Regions from separate parts of the Homo sapiens genome. Here region 1 is linked to region 2. The links are contacts of gene promoters, found by promoter capture Hi-C in blood cells and fetal thymus (Javierre and others, 2016). All regions are on one chromosome and are shown on one strand. The core of a region is centred on a gene start or on the middle of the fragment in contact, and the rest is flanking DNA. Distances in the headings are between cores, read along the strand shown. Region 1 holds the start of DRG1 (developmentally regulated GTP binding protein 1). Region 2 holds the start of ZMAT5 (zinc finger matrin-type 5).

What was found. The method cuts DNA at HindIII sites, captures the fragments that hold promoters and counts their contacts. A CHiCAGO score of 5 or more calls a contact.
Region 1: the fragment with the promoter of DRG1 here is called in contact with the fragment with the promoter of ZMAT5 in region 2 in 1 of 17 cell types (naive CD8 T cells); the score reaches 5.3 in naive CD8 T cells.

Annotation. Positions count from the first base shown.
Region 1 is chr22:31,396,873-31,401,712 of GRCh38, forward strand. DRG1 (developmentally regulated GTP binding protein 1) reads left to right here and starts at 2,732. Exons shown (of 9, transcript NM_004147.4): 1 at 2,732-2,853; 2 at 3,748-3,871. The coding sequence starts at 2,812. RefSeq lists a silencer at 2,392-2,671 and enhancers at 2,759-3,664, 2,792-2,841. The HindIII fragment of the contact is 2,387 bases long and covers 1,428-3,814 here.
Region 2 is chr22:29,765,554-29,770,370 of GRCh38, forward strand. ZMAT5 (zinc finger matrin-type 5) reads right to left here and starts at 1,454. Exons shown (of 6, transcript NM_001003692.2): 1 at 1,319-1,454. It overlaps UQCR10 (ubiquinol-cytochrome c reductase, complex III subunit X), which reads left to right and starts at 1,816. Exons shown (of 2, transcript NM_013387.4): 1 at 1,816-1,995; 2 at 4,125-4,817. The coding sequence starts at 1,846. The coding sequence ends at 4,166. RefSeq lists enhancers at 689-1,338, 1,308-1,537, 1,339-1,988, 1,898-1,947. The HindIII fragment of the contact is 8,045 bases long and covers 1-4,817 here.

The DNA.
Region 1 (4,840 bases), core at 1,482-3,981, 1.6 Mb after region 2:
GGCAGGTCTTGAACTCCTGGCTTCAATGCCCAGGCTGGTCTTGAACTCCTGGCCTCAAGCGATCCTCCCACCTCAACCTCTGAAAGCACTGGGATTAAACTGTGAGCCACTGTCCCCGGCCTATTTATTTTTTACACATTTAATACCAAGGTGCTAGTGCTTTATTCATATGACCAAATGGGCTCTCCTTGCTGCAGTTGGTACTTAACAGACATGGGGTAGCTATGGCTCTTAGGAGCTGAACCTAAGGTCCTGGCCTTGGCCTCCCAGCCTGGATACTTCTTTTTTTTTCTTCCTTGAGATAGAGTCTCGCTCTTGTCGTCCTGGCTCCAGGCTGTAGTGCAATGGCATGATCTCGGCTCACTACAACCTCTGCCTCCCGGGTTCAAGCGATTCTCCTGCTCAGCCTCCTGAGTAGCTGGGATTACAGGCGCCCGCCACCACGCCCGGCTAATTTTAGTATTTTTAATAGAGACGGGGTTTCACCATGCTGGCCAGGCTGGTCTCGAACTCCTGACCTCAGGTGATCCACCTGCCTCGGCCTCCCAAAGTGCTGGGATTACAGGGGTGAGCCACTGTGCCCAGCCCCAGCCTGGATACTTTTTTTTTTTGAGACTGAGTCTCCCTCTGTCGCCAGGCTGGAGTGCAGTGGCACATTCTTGGTTCACTGCAACCTCCGCCTCCCGGGTTCAAGGGATTTTCCTGCCTCAGCTTCCTGAGTAGCTGGGACTACAGGTGCATGCCATCATGCCTGGCTAATTTTTTGTATTTTTAGTAGACACCGGGTTTCACCGTATTAGCCAGGATGGTCTCGATCTCCTGACCTCGTGATCTGCCACCCACCTCGGCCTCCCAAAGTGCTGGGATTACAGGCATGAGCCACCGCGCCCGGCCTAAATACTTGTTATGTGCAGGAACATATCTGATTCACTCTCTACTCTGTCCCCAGTGTTGTCACAGTGCCAGGCAGCAGTTGGAGCTCTGTAAATAACGATTGCATGAACAGGATGGCCACCCAGGACTCGGGAAAATGAGTATTACTCTTTGGTGCCTATTGACAGTTCAGGGCCCCAAGGTGGGTCCCAGGGTGTCTTTGAGCAGTAAGTGTTAACTTATCTGCAGGCCTCATATAATAGATTTGCTAAGGAGCACCTACTCACAGAGCAGTGATGCCCTTGATATTGTCAGCCAATTAATTCCTTAAGTACTTCAAGTTAGGATAGGCCTGCTGATTTGATTTTATCTGTCTTTTAAGATTGATCTTTGATCATGTCCCATTCCAGCTGGACCTCCTCATCTTCCCTCCTCCATTGCTAATAGTGTGGGATCTAATTACCTCATCATCCCTTAATTTATTTATGAAAAAGGCTGAGGTTAAAGAAAAGAAAGAAGAAACTCTCTTTGGCCCTTTGGGGACCTTCTGTAAAAGCTTTCCCTTCTGTTTCTCCCTCTTTATGCACAAGAAAACCTCCCTTTTTTGTCTCTGGGAAGTTAGAATAGTTCTTGTTTACAAATTTAACTAAATTAAACTTCCCTCCCAGGGCTGGGTGGAGGCCAGCCCTGTGGGTTAAGCCTGGCCTGTCGACTGTGGGTTAAGCCTGGCCTGTCGACTCCCGCTGGAATAATCAATCTATCAAAACAACCCATTGATCCTGAGGCAAACCGCTTTCAAAACCACCACATAGTTCCTGGACGTCCTGGCTTCCTCATGACACTTGGGGAAGAGGAGTCTTTTGAAATTTTAAATTTTATTATTACACAAGTAATACATGGATACATTCGTCTTGTAAAAATTTAACTTCAAAATTCTGTGGAATAAAATGTGAAAGGCCTTTTCTTTGCATCCCATCCCACAGTTAAGAGCTTCTGATGTATTTTTCTGTTTAGGCCTTTAAACTGCACGTTCATACACGTACACCTATATAAATGTACATTTAATTTTAAAAATAACATAAATGGTATCACTACGTAGGTGCCCTTCTGCTAGTTGTTTTCCCATTTAACATGTCCTGGGTAGCCAGTCAGACCACAGATCTACGTTTTAACGGCTGTAATCATATTTCAAAAACAGGATAGAGGCATTATTCATTTATCCATTTTCCTACTGATGGGTGTTAATATAGATTTCAATTTTTTGGTATTACAAACTATGTTGCAAGCAGCAGTTCTCTGGGAATTATCCATTCAAGTATGCACTTATTTTGGGCTCCCCATGTGCTCTACTCGGGGTTCGGAGTAAACAAAACCGACCTAAAAATAATTTTGAATGATAGAAAGGGGGCATTTTCTTTATCCAAGGGGGTGAGGCAGGCTGAAGATGGGTCTCTACTCCCTCCAAGACCATGGAGGGCGTCGGGGTGTCACCCCAGCTGTGAAAAAGGGACCCAGGACCCGCAGATGCTGGCGAGGAACAGGGGTGCGGAGCATGAGTCGGCTTTGCACCACGCCCTGGGGTCTCCAGCACTGAAGCGTTCAGTACCATGCAGAGCAGCTGGGAGCGGGTCCCGCTGGGCGGGGCCGAGCTGCGCGCGACCCTCGGCGCGCTCGGGGAGGCCCAGACAGGGGTGGCCTCTCTGGCCTCCGCTCCCGCGGGCTCTATGACACCGCACTGGCTCGCGGGACGGGGCGGGGTCGGGTGAGGGGGAGGAGACAGCCCCACGCTTTGCGACTCGCGGTGACCCCTACGCGGAACTCTCTCGCGGTAATTCGAAGTACCGCGCCTGCGTGCTGCAGTAGCGCCTGGTGGCGGTGGCAGTTTGCCCGCGGGTGTGTGAAGGGAGACAGTGTGGAGGCCACAGGGTACTCGCCACGATGAGCAGCACCTTAGCTAAGATCGCGGAGATAGAAGCAGAGGTAATGGACGCAGCTGGCGGTTCACTCTTAGTCTGAGCATTCCTTCTTTGGTGGCGTCGCTCCTTCCTGTTCTCCTTTGAGCCGCGTCAGGACCGGGCCTAGATTCCGCGACTTCTCTCAGCGAGGCCCGTGTTCCGACTGCCCTCTGCCACGATTAGGAGTCCCCGACTCTCCTCAGTCAGGGCCCCCTTTCCCCTCGTCCCGCGTCTACGCTCTCGGACTCCCCTTTGCCCGGGCCCGCGTTCCGCACCCCTGCACCTTAGGCCCTTAGTCCGTTCCCCCTCCCAGTGTTTGGCTCCTGTTCTGATGTTGTTTCTTTCCGTTTTGCTCTGAGAAACACTGAATCCTGTCCCTTATTCCATCTCTGACTTGGTCAGATAGTTCAGGATCTTTCCTCATCATCCTTCGCTGCGTCCCCCTTATTCCCCCTTTTCCCAGTGTCTACCCTAATGACCCCCTGATTCAGAGTATTTGCTCCCGGTAATCGGATCTGGAAGTAAAATGACATCTGTGTGGGAGCAGTTTATTCCGCCTGGATAGTGTGTGATTCCATTGCGTGCGGCCCTGAGAGCGCTTTACAATTAGGAAAGTGGTGTCCCAGTGTTAGATGGATCCAAACAGCTGCAAATAGTAGAAAAGGAACCCGCAGACGGGTTTCAGTCTAGTCTGGGGGCACTAATTGGAATGACCTTAATCGTCTTTCCTCTTTGGGCTTTGCTTTGCTTTGTAGTGAGGGAAATGAGCTGGATGGAGGAGATAATGGACTTTTACTCTTTTAAAGCCTGTAAACTGGGTGTGCTAACATTAGTAGGACTTGGGGAAAAAAATTATCCTCTCAAAGCTGGGGGAAGCGTTCACTGCTTCTAATTTATGGCTGTGATTCCTCCCTTTTAGATGGCTCGGACTCAAAAGAACAAGGCCACAGCACACCACTTAGGGCTGCTTAAGGCTCGTCTTGCTAAGCTTCGTCGAGAACTCATTACTCCAAAGGGTGGTGGTGGTGGAGGTCCAGGAGAAGGTTTGTGTTCTTCTTCAATATATATATTTTTAGGTATAATTTTTGTCAAAATAGTACATACATGTGGTTTAAAAATAACTAAAGATGGCCCAGTGCAGTGGCTCAACGCCTGCAATCCTAGCATGCTGGGAGGCTGAGATAGGAGGATCACTTGAGGCCAGGAGTTCAAGACCAGCCTGATCAACATAGACCCCCATCTCAAAAAAAAAAAAAAGTTTTTTAAAAACAGAAAAATAACTAAAGATGTTCTACTAAAGTAGATTTATATTTTCTAAGCATGAATTCTTGAACTGTGTTTATTTTTATTCTGCCGGTTTCAGAGGCAAATGAATATTGTCTAAGTGTACTGTAGTTTTATTTATATCCTGCACTGATACAAAATAGATTTACATGCGCTGGGTGCAGTGGCTCACCCTTGTAATTCCAGCACTTTGGGAGGCTGAGGCGGGAGGATTGCTTGAGGCCAGGAGTTCGGAACCAGCAAAGCCCTGTCTCTATGGGCTTAGAAATGAGGGGTCCCCATAGGTATGAAAGAAGATGTACCAAAAAAAAAAAAAGGCTGGGTGCGGTGGCTCACGCCTGTAATCCTAGCACTTTGGGAGGCCAAGGCGTGGATCACGAGATCAGGAGTTCAAGACCAGCTTGGCCAGCATGGTGAAACCCCATCTCTACTAAAAATACAAAAATTAGCTGGGCATGGTGGCGCATGCCTGTAATCCCAGCTATTTGAGAGGCTGAGGCAGGAGAATTGCTTGAATCGGGACCCAGGAGGCAGAGGTAGCAGTGAGTGAGATTGTACCACTGCACTCCAGCCTGGGCTACAGAGCTAGACTCTGTCTCAAAAAAAAAAAAAAAAAAAAAAAGTATCCTAGCATGGTGGTGCATGTTTGTGGTCTCAGCTACTTGGGAGGCTGAGTTGGGAGGACTGCTTGAACCCAGGAGGTTGAGGCTGCAGTGAGTTGTGATGGC
Region 2 (4,817 bases), core at 204-2,703:
TGCTCCACACCCTAACCTAAATTACCACCCATCAGGCCGGGCATGGTGGCTCACGCCTGTAATCCCAGCACTTTGGGAGGCCAAGATGGGAGGATCACCTGAAGTCAGGAGTTTGAGACTAGCCTGGCCAACATGGTGAAACCCTGTCTCTACTAAAAAAAAAAATTAGCCAGGCATGGTGGCAGGCGCCTGTAATCCCAGCCACTCGGGAGGCTGAAGCAGGAGAATCACTTGAACCCGGGAGGCGGAGGTTGCAGTAAGCCGAGATAGCACCACTACACTCCAGTCTGGACGACAGACCGAGACTCCATCTCAAATAAATAACCACCCATCTTCCCTCAAATGATCTACTACAATAACTTCCCCCTTGCGGTCCACTCTCCATAGACCAGCCAGGATGATGACATTAAAGTGCACATTAAATCTTGTCGCATTTCTCCTGAAAACCCTTCAATGGCCTCCTAGTGCAACTAGAAAAAGACAAGACTCCTTGGCCAGACGCGGTGGCTCACGCACCTTGGGGGGCGAGGCAGGAAGATTGCTTGAGCCCAGGAGTTGGAGACCAGCCTGGGCAACACAGTGAGACCCTGTCTCTAAAAACAAAAACCAAAGAAAACAAGACTCCGTAAGGTGGGTTCCAAGGCCAGACATGAGCTGACCGGAGTCAACCTCTTCACAGTCCACTCTACTTCTTTCCCTCAAACATCCCAGGACTGTAGCTGCCTCAAGGCCTTTGCACCAACGTTTTCCTGTTCAACTCTACTATTCATTCAGGTCTCTAGTCAAGTGTCACCCCCCAGAGCAGCTACCCAGGGTGCAATGTCACCACCACTGCCTCTCCAGTCAACCAAAGCACTATCTGTTTGCTGTACTGCATCTCCCCACCCGCCCACTCCGTAGATTGAGCGCTCTGTGAGAGCAAGGACTTTGTTCACTGCTGGGTCCCCAGAGCAGGGACCAGAACAGGCGCTGGGAAAACATCTGTTGAATGCCCCAGGTACTCCAAAGCCCTTGCTCTTTTCAATCCCAAGCAGGTTCCAAGTCTCCAGCCTTCCAAACCAGGGTTGCCCGGTGCGAAGCCCAGGGGTGAGAGGAACAGGAAGCAGGGCAGATCCGTCCCTGCCCTTAATCCAGGGTGAAGGGTTTAACCTCCAGGACAAGACTTTTGCCGCAGGCTCCAGCTCCTGGCCTAGACTTGGGGCTGGTGCAGGGGACAAGGCGAAGAGTTGAGCCAGGGTCTCGGGAACCCAGCTGCCCTCGCCCCTCTATCCACACCCTATCCCAAGAAATGGTGCGTCCCGCCGCAGGGCGTACGCACAGAGAAGGAAGTGTTCAAGTCTTCCAGTGCGGAGAAAAGAGACTAGGACTCGCCCCTCGACGTCTCGCGGAAGGTACCTGGCTCCCCGGTGGCTGCAGCTCCGGGCTCCTCCTCCTGCGTCCTCGCGTCGCGTACTGCTTGCTGGGATTCGTAGTCTCGCCTTGGCCATCAGTTCGCCCTTCCCAGAGAGCTTTGGGAATCTAAGCCGGGACTGGGCGGAGGGCGGGGAGAAGGTGATGGCGCGCGAGGGCTTCTGGGAGTTGTAGTTTGACATATTCTAACAGCCAGGAATTCTGGAGAAGAAAAATTGGGTAATAAATCTTATCAGATTATCTGGGCTGTCCTGATATGAACCTTTTGAGTTTTTTTCCTCATTCCCAGGATAGGAATACCTCTGTGGTTCAAAACACGAAGGCTGAGATTCAGAGGAACTACAAATCCCATAAAGTGTTGCACGTCTAGGGCCTTTGGGGAACGAGGTCGGCCCCAGCGCAGGCGCGGTGGCGCGAGTTGGACTGTGAAGAAACATGGCGGCCGCGACGTTGACTTCGAAATTGTACTCCCTGCTGTTCCGCAGGACCTCCACCTTCGCCCTCACCATCATCGTGGGCGTCATGTTCTTCGAGCGCGCCTTCGATCAAGGCGCGGACGCTATCTACGACCACATCAACGAGGGGGTGAGGGCCTGTGCCATCCCTGACCTTGGACCCGCCTGAGGGGTGACAGTGGAGTAGAGGTGGGATGGGACTCAGTATACTTTTACCAGGAAGGGGGTAAGGGGTAAACCGTCGGCGTCTTCTGTCTCGAGTCCGCCGTCTGTCCCCTTGGCTTGATGTGAATTCTAAAACGTTAAGCGAGGTTAATATATTTCATTTTGCAGGGGTTGTAAGTATTGCTGTGTGCCACCCTACATACCCACTTGCCCATTATCAGAAGCAAAAACTAAAGGCTAGTGAGAGCAAAGGACTTACTAGCTGCACAGGAAGCCAGGGGCAAGTCAGGGCCAGAAACGGGACCCCTGTCTCTCAGAGTTTCAAGGGCAGATTTGAGCAGGCGACGGTCGTGAAAAGGACGTTAGACACCTTAGACGCCGTGGCTGAAGTTTCAGACGGCGCTTCTGGTCCCCAAGGCTTCCCACGTAGACAGTTGGTATTAATGGTTGAGAGTGGGGGCTATGAAATCAGAAAGCCTTGGATAGGAACACTGGTCCTTGTCACTTAACTGTGGCATTAAGTTGAGCAAGTTTCTTCTCTGAACTCCGTTTTAACTGTGAGATGGAGATATTAATAGTAACCTGAGCACGATTGTGAGGATTACATGAGATGCAGGCAGGGTGCCACATGCCTGGTAGGTGGTACCACTGAAAAATAATCATTGCTTACATTCCTCAGGAGAAAGTGGAAGCATGAGGTAGGAATCGCAACACATTTTTGACTTTTATGTATCATGCACTGTGCTAGGTGCAGTGCATGCTTTATATCGCTAAATTATGACTGTGCTGGAGTAGGCCTTATACATATAGCCCTGTTCCACCACTCACTTGTGTTTTTAATTTGAGACTGTCTGACTCTGCAGCCCGGGAAGGCACTGTCCACTAGTGCTATGCTGCCTGTGACCAGTGCAACTTCCTGCCCCATATGAAAGCATTGCTACTGTCCCATCTCTTGCAAGTGGTTCTGTTAACCACTCCCATTGATCTGGAGAGACATCCAAGTATGTTGTTATAACTCACCCATTTTCCTTGTGCTTTTTTTTGTTTTGTTTTGTTTTTTTGAGACAGGATCTCACTCTGTCGCCCAGGTTGGAGTGCAGTGGCATGATCACAGCTCACTGCAGCCTTGACCTCCTGGGTTCAAGTGATCTTCCCACCTCAGCCTCCTGAGTAGCTGGGACCACAGGCATGCGCCACCACGCCCAGCTAATTTTTGTATTTTTTGTAGAGATGGGGTTTCACCATGTTGCCCAGGCTGGTCTTGAATTCCTGAGCTCAGGCAGTCCTCCTGCCTTAGCCTTCTAAAGTACTGGGATTACAGGCGTGAGCCACTGTGCTCAACCTCTTGTGCTTCTGGGAATGAGAATTTCAGCCAATTTAGGTCCCAGGAAATGTCTTAAATGGCTCATGGTGAAATATTTTGGGACTACGCACTTATAATCTCTTCAGTAATACCTGGGAGTTGAAGAACTGAGACATCTTCCAGGCTGTTTTCCTTAATAATTGTGTGTTTTGGGGCACTTCCCTCAATCTCAAACTGAATTTCCTGTGAAATTAAGATCACCCCTTTCCACTTACTTCACCTGGTGATTGAAAGCATCATAGTATTTTATAAATGCCAAGAATTATGCATGAAGGCTCGGCGCGGTGGCTCACACCTGTCATCCCAGCGCTTTGGGAGGCCAAGGCAGGCAGATCACTTGAGGTCAGGAGTTTGAGACCAGCTTGGCCAACATGGCGAAACCCCATCTCTACTAAAAATACAAAAATTAGCCGGGTAGCGCATACCTGTATTCCCAGCTGCTCTTGAAGCTGAGGCAGGAGAATCGCTCGAACCCAAGAGGCTGAGGTTGCAGTGAGCCGAGATTGCGCCACTACACTCCAGCCTGGGCGATAGAGCGAGTCTCCGTCTCAAAAAAAAAATGTGCATCAAGCATAGGATTGCTTCGAGTTTGCCCACCACAAGTGTATCTTTTTAATCAGGACATGGCATGTGTTTCCCCCAAGCTCATTTTAGAGACCAGGGCAGTGGGAGTAGTTGTAAAATGTGAGAGGCAAAGGTCAAAGTTTGTGGCTCTTGTCTTTAAAATGCAGAAGCTGTGGAAACACATCAAGCACAAGTATGAGAACAAGTAGTTCCTTGGAGGCCCCCATCCAGGCCAGAAGGACCAGGTCCACCCAGCAGCTGTTTGCCCAGAGCTGGAGCCTCAGCTTGAAGATGATGCTCAAGGTACTCTTCATGGACCACCATTCGCTGTTGGCAAGAAACGGCTTTACTTACAAAACAGACTCTTTACCTTCTGCTGTGTTTGAAGTATGTTTAGTCAGCATGCTCAGGAAATAAATGTGAATTGCCCTTGAGACCTGCTTCTACATTGGTTGCTTTGTTAACTCTACCTGATCTTCACTTGTCAGTAATTTGAGACCACTTCAAAGCCCTCTGCAAACACCCCAAAGGCAGAATCTGCTATTTTGAGTTTTCCATTAACTTCCAAAGAATTCTGGTTTTCAAAACAGGAGCCAGAGTTGGAGATATTACAGTCAACTTTGGCTTCTAAGCCAGTAATTCCATTCTTAAATACCTCACTGTCTTGGCCATGGGGAAGCACTATGGCCTCAGCTGGGGGAAAGACCCTGGCCTAGGGGTCTTAGCCACTCCCCACCCTAGGGTATAGTTCAGGGGTATCCAATCCTTTGGCTTCCCTGGGCCATGTTGGAAGAATTGTCTTGGGCCACACATAAAATACAGTAACCATAGCTGATGAGCTAAAACAAAAAACAATGGTT